Regions from separate parts of the Homo sapiens genome. Here region 1 is linked to region 2. Evidence: promoter capture Hi-C in human tissues and cell types (Jung and others, 2019). All regions are on one chromosome and are shown on one strand. The core of a region is centred on a gene start or on the middle of the fragment in contact, and the rest is flanking DNA. Distances in the headings are between cores, read along the strand shown. Region 1 overlaps ZNF100 (zinc finger protein 100). Region 2 holds the start of ZNF430 (zinc finger protein 430).

What was found. Contacts are between HindIII fragments. The study calls those that stand out against the background at their distance.
Region 1: a fragment that was not itself captured here is called in contact with the fragment with the promoter of ZNF430 in region 2 in 1 of the 25 tissues and cell types used here (stomach).

Annotation. Positions count from the first base shown.
Region 1 is chr19:21,752,893-21,757,582 of GRCh38, forward strand. The region is part of intron 2 of ZNF100 (zinc finger protein 100); the gene reads right to left. It also overlaps the pseudogene CCNYL6. Among named protein-coding and RNA genes, the nearest start is that of ZNF100, 12 kb to the right of the region's middle. The HindIII fragment of the contact is 6,514 bases long and covers 1-4,690 here.
Region 2 is chr19:21,017,253-21,021,992 of GRCh38, forward strand. It overlaps ZNF430 (zinc finger protein 430), which reads left to right and starts at 3,405. Exons shown (of 5, transcript NM_025189.4): 1 at 3,405-3,551. The coding sequence starts at 3,549. RefSeq lists enhancers at 3,095-3,688, 3,689-4,280. The HindIII fragment of the contact is 8,151 bases long and covers 1-4,740 here.

The DNA.
Region 1 (4,690 bases), core at 538-3,037, 730 kb after region 2:
TCACCAGTGCAGTCATGGTGCACTGCAGCCTAGAACTTCCTGGCTTCGCGCCATCCTCTAGCCTCGGCCACACGAGTGGCTGGGACTGCAGGCGCACCCTGCATTTGTCTCCTGAATGTTAGGCTTTTGATTTTTTGTTTCAGTCACTCTTGAAGTCACTCTTGACTGAAGCAAAAAATTAAAAGCTTTATATTCAAAATTCTCAAAATGAAGCTGGGTGTGGTGGTGCACACCTGAGGTTCCAGCTACTTGGGTGGCTGGAGGATTGCTTGGGGTCAGGTATTGGAGGCTGCAGTGTATCGTGATGGTGCCTATAGAAATAGCTACTGCACTTCAACCTGGACAACATATCGGGACCCCATCTCTTAGAAAAATGCAAAATTAAATGCAAAAGAAATGCACCGGGCATAGTGATTCATGCCTATAATCTCAGTACTTTGGGAGGCTGAGGTGGGAGGATTACTTGAGCGCAGCAGTTCAAGACCAGTCTAGTCAACACAGTGAGCCCCTGTCTGTAAAAAATAATAATAAATAAAAATAATTAGCTGGATATGGTGGCGTATGTCTGTAGTCCCAGCTACTCTGGAGGCTGAGGTGGGAGGATCACTTGAGCCTGCGGGGTCAAGGCTGCAGTGGGCCATGATCATGCTACTGCACTCCAGTCTGGGCGACATCCAGACCCTATCTCAAAAGAAGGAAAAGAAAAACATTCAGGCAAGGTTTTATGAAGGTTTGTAGCACTTCTACAAGTATCAAAGCTTAAAATTACATTAAACCTTTGGAATATCTTGTATCTCCATAAAATGCCCTTCTCTTTTTAAAATGAATTACTTGCAGAGCTGTGCTCTATATGCATTGATCACCGAAGTTTCTTTAATTTAAAGGAAGATTTTGAAGAGCACTGTTAATTAACATGTAATAAAAGGAACTGGGCCCTAATGATAGAAGGTGATATGAACAGCTGTTTTATCATCCTACATGCTACCAACCTGTAGGTGTCCCATTAAGTCCTGCTATTTAAGAAATAACTTACATAACCCTTAGGAACACTTACTTCAGGCTTTAAAAGGCAAGGAACAAATAATTTTAGGAGACTGATAATGCCATCTAAATTTGAAAAACTAAAAGGAGATTAGTGTTCTCAATTATGTGAAATCTATTTCTCCTACTTACTCAAATCTAATCCTAGGAATCTTGCTTATAAACAAAGCATTCCTGGGCCAGGAATACTTCCTCTACTATAGCAATATTTCACATCATATTGTGCTGCAATTTCCATCATTTTTAAAGGGCAGAGAAATAAATGATAAATAATGGTATAAAAATATTACAATCTACCACCTCAAAAAAAAAACAACAAAACATTGTTTATGGAGTTCAGAGCTTGGAGAGTCAAGTATTGATAGCTGTTTTATTTTAAAAAGAATGTTACAATTTATGTGGTTTTTATTTCTCATGTTTATATTAAAAGTTAATAAACTCTTTTAATTAAAAACATATCATTATTTCAATAGAAAAAAGCCTTTGATAAAATTCAGCATCCCTTCATGTTAAAAACCAATGGAACAGAACAGAGACCTCAGAAATACCACCACACATTTACAACCATCTGACCTTTGACAAACCTGACAAAAGCAATGGGGAAATGATCTTCTGTTAAGTAAATGGTGCTGGGGAAACTGGCTAGCCATATGCAGAAAACTGAAACTGGACCCCTTCCTTACAAAATTATACAAAAATTAACTTATACAAAAAGTAACTCAAGATGGGTTAAACACTTAAATGTTTAACCATAAAAACCCTAAATGAAAACCTAGGCAATACCATTCAGGACAAAGGCATGGGAAAGACTTCATGACAAAAACACCAAAAGGAATCGCAACAAAAGCCAAAATTTGACAAATGGGATCTAATTAAAGAGCTTCTGCACAGCAAAAGAAAACCATCATCAGAATGAACAGACAACCTACAGAACAGGAGAAAATTTTTGCAACCTACCCATCTGACAAAGGTCTAATATCCAGAATTTATAAGGAACTTATACAAATTTAAAAGAAAGACAACCCCATCAAAAAGTGGGCAAAACATGAACAGATACTTCTCAAAAGAAGACATTTATGTGGCCAACAAACATGAAAATACACTCAGCCGAGCTCACGCCTGTAATCCCAGCACTTTGGGAGGCCGAGGCGGCTGGATCACCTGAGGTCGGGAGTTCAAGACCAGCCTGGCCAACATGGAGAAACCCGTCTCTACTAAAAATACAAACTTAGCCAGGCATGGTGGGGCATGTAATCCCAGCTACTCGGGAGGCTAAGGCAGGAGATTCGCTTGAACCCAGGAGGCAGAGGTTGCAGTGAGCCAAGATCGCACCATTGCACTCCAGCCTGGCCAATGAGAGTGAAAGTCCGTCTCAAGAAAAAAGAAAAAAAGAAAAAAAAAAAAGCTCAACATCACTGATCATCAGGGAAATGCAAATCAAAACCACAGTGAGATACATCTCACACCAGTCAGAATGGTAATGATTAAAAAGTCAAGAAACAGATGCCGGTGAGGCTGTGGAGAAATAGTAACACTTTTACACTCTTGGTGGGAAGGCAAATTAGTCTAACCATTGTGGAAGACAGTATGGTCATTCCTCAAGGATCTAGACCAGAATTACCATTTGATCCAGCAATCCCATTACTGGGTATATACCCAAAGGAATATAAACCATTCTACTATAAAGACACATGCACATGTATGTTTACTGCAGCACTATTTACAATAACAAAGACATGGAGCCAACCCAAATGCCCATCAATGACAGACTGGATAAAGAAAATGTGGTACATATAAGCCATGGAATACTATGCAGCCATCAAAAGGAATGAGATCATGTCCTCTGCAGGAACATGAATGAAGCTGGAAGCCAGCATCCTCAGCAAACTAACACAGGAACAGAAAACAAAACATTGCATGTTCTCACTCATAAGTGGGAGCTGAACAATGAGAACACATGGACACAGAGAGGGAAACTACACCCACAGGGCCTGTTGAGGGGTGAATGGTGAGGAGACAGAACATAGAGGACGGGTGAATAGGCGCACCAAACCACCATGGCACACATACCTATGTAACAAACCTGCATGTTCTGCAAGTGTATCTCCCTGCTTTTTTAGAAGAAATTTTTTAAAAGAGGAAAAAAATGTTACTTATCACATAAACCAAAACTAAAGACAAAAACCACATGATTATTTCAATAGATGCTAAAAAAGCCTTCAATATAATTTACTATCCTTCATGTTTAAAACCCTCAACAAACTAGGCATTGAAGGTACATACTTCAAAATAATGAGTCATCTTTCACAAACTTACAGCCAACATACTAAATGGACACAAGTGAGAAGCATTCCTCCTTGAAAACTGGCACAAGACAAGGATGCCTTCCCTCAAAACTCCTGTTCGACATAGAATTGGTACAGTCTCAGCAGAAAAGCTCTTTAAACTGAAAAGCAAGTTCTGCAAAGTTTCAGGATACTAAATCAGTAGCATCTCTGTACATCAACAACATCCAAGCCAAAAGCCAAATCAAAAACATAATGCCATTCACAATTGCCACACACACACACACACAAATATCGAGGAATACAGCTACCCAGGAATGTGAAAGATCTCTATGACAAGATGATCAAACACTGCTTAAAGAAGTGAGAGATGACATAAACAAATGGAAAACCATTTTATGCCATGGATAGAAAAGATTAGCATCACTAAAATGTCAAAACTACCCAAAGAAATTTACTGACTTAATGCTATTCCTATCAAACTACCAAAAACATTGTTAACAGAACTAAAACTTAACTATTTTAAAATTTATATGGAACTAAAATAAGCCTGAATAGCCAAGGCAATTTTAAGCAAAAAGAACAAAGCTGGAGGTATTACATTAACCCTCTTCAAACTACACTACAGGGCTACGATAACCAAAGCAGCATAATACTGATGCAAAAAGAGATGCATAGAAAAATGCAACACAATAGAGAGGCCAGAAATAATGCCACACACCTCCAACTATCTGATCTTTGACAAAGCTGACAAGAGGAATGAGGAAATAATTCCCTATTTAATAAATGGTGCTGGAACAAGCTGGGAGAGGTGGCTCACACCTGTAATTCCAGCACTTTGGGAGGCCAAGGTGGGTGTGGATCAGTTGAGGTAAGGAGTGCGATACCAGCCTGGCCAACGTGGTGAAACCCTGTCTCCACTAAAAATACAAAAATTAGCTGGGCAAGGTGGCACATGCCTATAATTCTAGCACTTTGGGAGCCCAAGGCAGGTAGATCACTTGAGATCAGGAGTTTCAGGCCAGCCTGGCCAATACTGCAAAACTTCATCTCTACTAAAAATACAAGAATTATCAGGGCATGGTGGTGCATGTCTGTAGTTCCAGCTACTCAAGAGGCTGAGGCATGAGAAATGCTTCAACCCATGAAGCAGAGGTTGCACTGAGCCAAGATATGCCACTGAACTCCAGCCTTGGTCACAGAGTGAGACCCTGTCTCAAAGGAAAAAAATAGTCACTAACAGATACTGGCAAGGTTGCAGAGAAAAGGGAATGCTTTTATACACTGTTGGTGCGAGTGTAAATTAGTTCAACCATTGTGAAAAGCAGTGTGGCGATTCTTCACAGAACTAAAAACAGAATTAC
Region 2 (4,740 bases), core at 2,155-4,654:
GGTTCACGCCATTCTCCTGCCTCAGCCTCCCGAGTAGCTGGGACTACAGGCGCCCGCCACCATGCCCAGCTAATTTTTTGTATTTTTAGTAGAGACGGGGTTTCACCGTGTTAGCCAGATGGTCTCGATCTCCTGACCTCGTGATCCGCCTGCCTCAGCCTCCCAGTGTTGGGATTACAGGCGTGAGCCACAGTGCCAGCTCAAATATTTTCAATGATAAAAATAAATAATGTGCTGTTGGGCTTTGATTTTCTAAACTCATCCCTCAGCTATTTCCTCAAATTATTCTGTCTTCGAAATGCTTCTCCAATATTTTTTTTTTTTTGAGACAGAGTCTCATTTTACCACCCAGTGTGGATGGCAGTGGTGCAGCCAATCATGGCTTACTGCAGCCTTGACCTTCCAGACTCAAGCAATCCTCCTGCCTCTGCCACCTAAGTATTGGGACTATAGGCATGTACCACCATGGTTGGCTAATTTTTTCATTTTTTTAATGGAAACAAAATCTTATTATGTTGCTCAGGCTGCACTGGAACGCCTGAGCTCACATAATTCTCCCATCTTAGCCTCCCAAAGTGCTAGGATTACAGGTCTGAGCCACCGTGTTTGCAAAATGGTAGCAATTTTTCATCCCCCTTGTATCCATGCCCAATGCCAGATGCTTTTACAGTTGTTTCCATCAAGATTCAGAATCTGTTTTCCAAACCCTAGATCAGGCTGGCCTTATTTGCTCAGGGCAGTAGAAACCTGTGAACATGGCAATGAGCTAGTTTGGGACCTAGGCTCAAATGGTCTTGAGTGCTTCTGTTTTTCTTTTAGAATGTTGACATCACCTTGGAAAAAAGCCCATGTTAGCCAGCTGGAAAATAAGGTATCATGGGGAGGAGAAGCAAGGTGTCCCTATTGACAACCCCAGAAGCAGAACATCACCCCCAGAAGCACAGCTGCCTAGTCAACAAGCAGCTGACGACATATGACTGAAGGAGCTCAGCTGAAACCAGAAGAATGGCCCCACTGAGCCCAACCTAAATGGCTGACCATCTCGATTATGAACTAATAAGTTTTGGATGATTTGTTATGCTGCAATAGCTAACTAATACATGCACCCAGTGCAGATAGGATGCCAGGATTCAATGACAGGTTGATTACTAGTTATGTTCTAACAGTGGGCACCCTATAGGTACTGATTTTTTCCCCTGATTTAAAGTTGGGTGACTTGTAAGAGAATGTTGAGTAATGCAGAAATACAGGTAGACATGTATGCATGTGATTGGTGCTTATACCCACACAGTCCCACACACCACAGGAGAAAACAGGTAACTACAGCCTGACTAGTAGGGCCAAGGCCAATAGCAAAATAAGTTTTGCCTTTAATCTGTTTTCTCCATATCTAAACATTTGAGGTCAAGAGTGTGGACAGATCTGAAGACACAGAGTTTTATTATCCTGTGGCCCCAACATTCTTTCTTCACTGTCTGATCTCTGGAAGAAAAGTGGGCAACAGGTGGCCAGCAGTGGTCTACCTGTGGTTATTTTACTCCTGCTGCCATCTGCTCTTTTTATGGCCACTATCTGTTCCACCCTTAGAACTGAAGAAAGATATTGGTAGGGAGAGACTCTGCCTTCACTTCTGGCAGAAAAGGGATGTTCAGTTCATTCACCCCCCTGACATCAGAGCTGAACTTCAATGTGGCAGCTATTGGCCACGTGTGCCTCCTGAGTGACTGGAATGTGGCTGGTCTGAACTGCGATGTGCTAGAAAGGTAAAATACAGAGTTAGTTTCAAAGATTTAGTTTCAAATGTTTATATACATTATTAATAATTACACATTCCTCACACATTAAAATGATAATATTATGGACATATTGGGTTAAATTGTTACAATCAATTCAACCTGTTCCTTGTTTCTTTTTCAAGTTTGTCTACTAGAAAATTTAAGATTCACATGTGGCTCACATTTTATTTCAGAAGATTACCATCTTTTTAAAATCTGAGGCTGCCTCCTTTAGCCGGGAAGGTCATAAAATCTGAAATTTTAAAATAATTATTGTTACATTCTTTTCATTTTTGAATAGCCACTATATATATATAAATATAAATATATATAAAAATATATAAAAATAAAAATATAAATATATATAAAAACATAAATATATATAAATATAAATATGTATAATATATAAATATATAAAAATATATAAAAATATAAATATAAAAAATATATATAAATATAAATATATAAATATAAATATAAATATATATAAATATATACATATAAATATATAAATATAAATATATAAATATATAAATATAAATATATATAAATATATAAATATATATATATAAATATATAAATATATAAATATATATATATAAATATATAAATATTTATATATAAATATATATAAATATATAAATATATATAAATATATAAATATATATAAATATATATAAATATATAAATATATATAAGTATATAAATATAAATATATATAAATATATAAATATATATATAAATATATATAAATATATAAATATATATAATTATATAAATATAAATATATATAAATATATATAAATGTATATAAATACATAAATAAATATATAAATATATATAAATATATATATAAATAAATATATACAAATATATATAAATAAATATATATAAATATATATAAATAAATATATATAAATATATATAAATAAATATATAAATATATAAATATATAAATAAATACATATATAAATATATAAAATATATATAAATAAATATATAAAAATATATATAAATAAATATATATAAATAAATATATATATATATATATATATATATATTTTAGACAGAGTTGTGCTCTTGTTGCCCAGGCTGGAGTGCAATGGCACAATCTCGGCTCACCGCAACCTCCGCCTCCCAGGTTCAAGCGGTTCTCCTGCCTCAGCCTCCCGAGTACCTGGGATAACACACATGGGCCACCACAACCCGCTAATTTTATATTTTTTATAAAGACTGGGTTTCTCCATGTTGGTCAGGCTGGTCTCTAACTCCCGACCTCAGGTCATCTGCCCGCTTCAGCCTTCCAAAATGTTGGGATTACGGGCGTGAGCCACCGTGACCGGCCCCATATATTATTTATAAATGCATATGACCTTACACACAAGGTTAAATGCAAATAACCTCTGGGGTGGGCCTGGCTCAGCTCAGGGAGGAAGCCCTGTCAGAGAAGGATGCAGCCCAAGCTGTCACTCTTCTTTCAGCCCCGCATCTCATCACATCTTCCGTCAATCATGGCCTGAGGGGGCGGGGATTTAAATGTTATCCAATCAGAGACGCTAGGCAGGGAACCGTCCAATCAGGCACGCAGGTGAAGCGGACAGGGCGGCTTCCGGGTTTGGCGGGGCCTTTGTCCCTCGCTGTGGCCTGAGCTCCAGGTCTCGTCTTCAGCGCTCTGTGTCCTCTGCTCCTAGAGGTCCAGGCTCTGTGGCCCTGTGACCCGCAGGTATTGGGAGATCTACAGCTAAGACGCCAGGAACCCCTGGAAGCCTAGAAATGGTGAGAGTGCCGGGTCCGACATCCCCAGAGAGGGGAGGGGCTGGTTGTAATGGGTGGGAAGTGGCTGTGGCGGGACTCAGGCCTCCCGGCAGTCAGCTGCACAATCTGCGCCCCGAGTTCTTGCCCAGCTGGGCCTCAGTCCCCATCAGCCTTAAGATGGCGGCTGCGCTGACAGGCGGGCCCCAGCACGTCCCGTCTCTTCCTTGCGCAGTGACTGTGCCCTGGCCTGGAGCCCTCTCTGGGCAGCTCTGCATCCGCAGCGCCGCGTCTCTCCCAGACTGTGCAGGGACCACGGGAGGATCGTCACGGGAGAATCGTCACGGGAGAATCCTGACTTGGGGTGCGAGTTCATGAATGGGAAGAACTTTGGTCCTGGGTTCCTAGTTCCTCTTTTCTCCTATTAAAAATGTACAGACCGGGAGGGGTGGCTCACGTCTGTAATCCCAGTACTTTGGGAGGCCGAGGCGGGCGCATCACTAAGTCAGGAGAGTTCAAGACCAGCCTGGCCAGCATAGTGAAACCCCGTCTTTACTAAAAATACAAAAATTTGCCGGGCATGGTGGTACACGCCTGTAGTCCCAGCTACTTGGGAGACTGAGGCAGGAGAATCACTTGAACCTGGGAGGTGGAGATTGCAGTGAGCCGAGATAGCGCCACTGCACTACAGCCTGTGTAACAGAGCAAGACTCCGTCTCGGAAAAAAAAAATGTACAGAAGTCACCACAAAAATATTAAAGAAATTAATCAAAGAGTGATTAAAAAACTGTTGAGCACCCAGCTGTGGTTTGTAATTTGTTGTTCATGGCGGGGCTTGAAGGAAAGACTTTTATAAGGTGCATGATGAAGAAAGCCAAATTCAGTAATTGGTTAGGTACCGTTATGTAGTTTCTTAGTTTGTACAATAAAGGTGAAAATTTTCTGGTTGTGTAATCAGACCTTAATTGGCAGTATACAGTTGATTAAGCCTGAATTTTGTGTCTTTCAATGTAGTAATTTTCAAAACGATGCGCCTGAGTTAGATTTTTTTTTTTTTTTTTTTTTTTTTTTTTTGAGATGGAGTCTCGCTCTTGTCGCCCAGGCTGGAGTGCAGTGGCACAATCTCGGCTCACTACAACTTCTGCCGCTGCCTGTGTTCAAGCTTCTCCTGCCTCAGCCTTTTGAGTAGCTGGAATTACAAGCGCCTGCCACC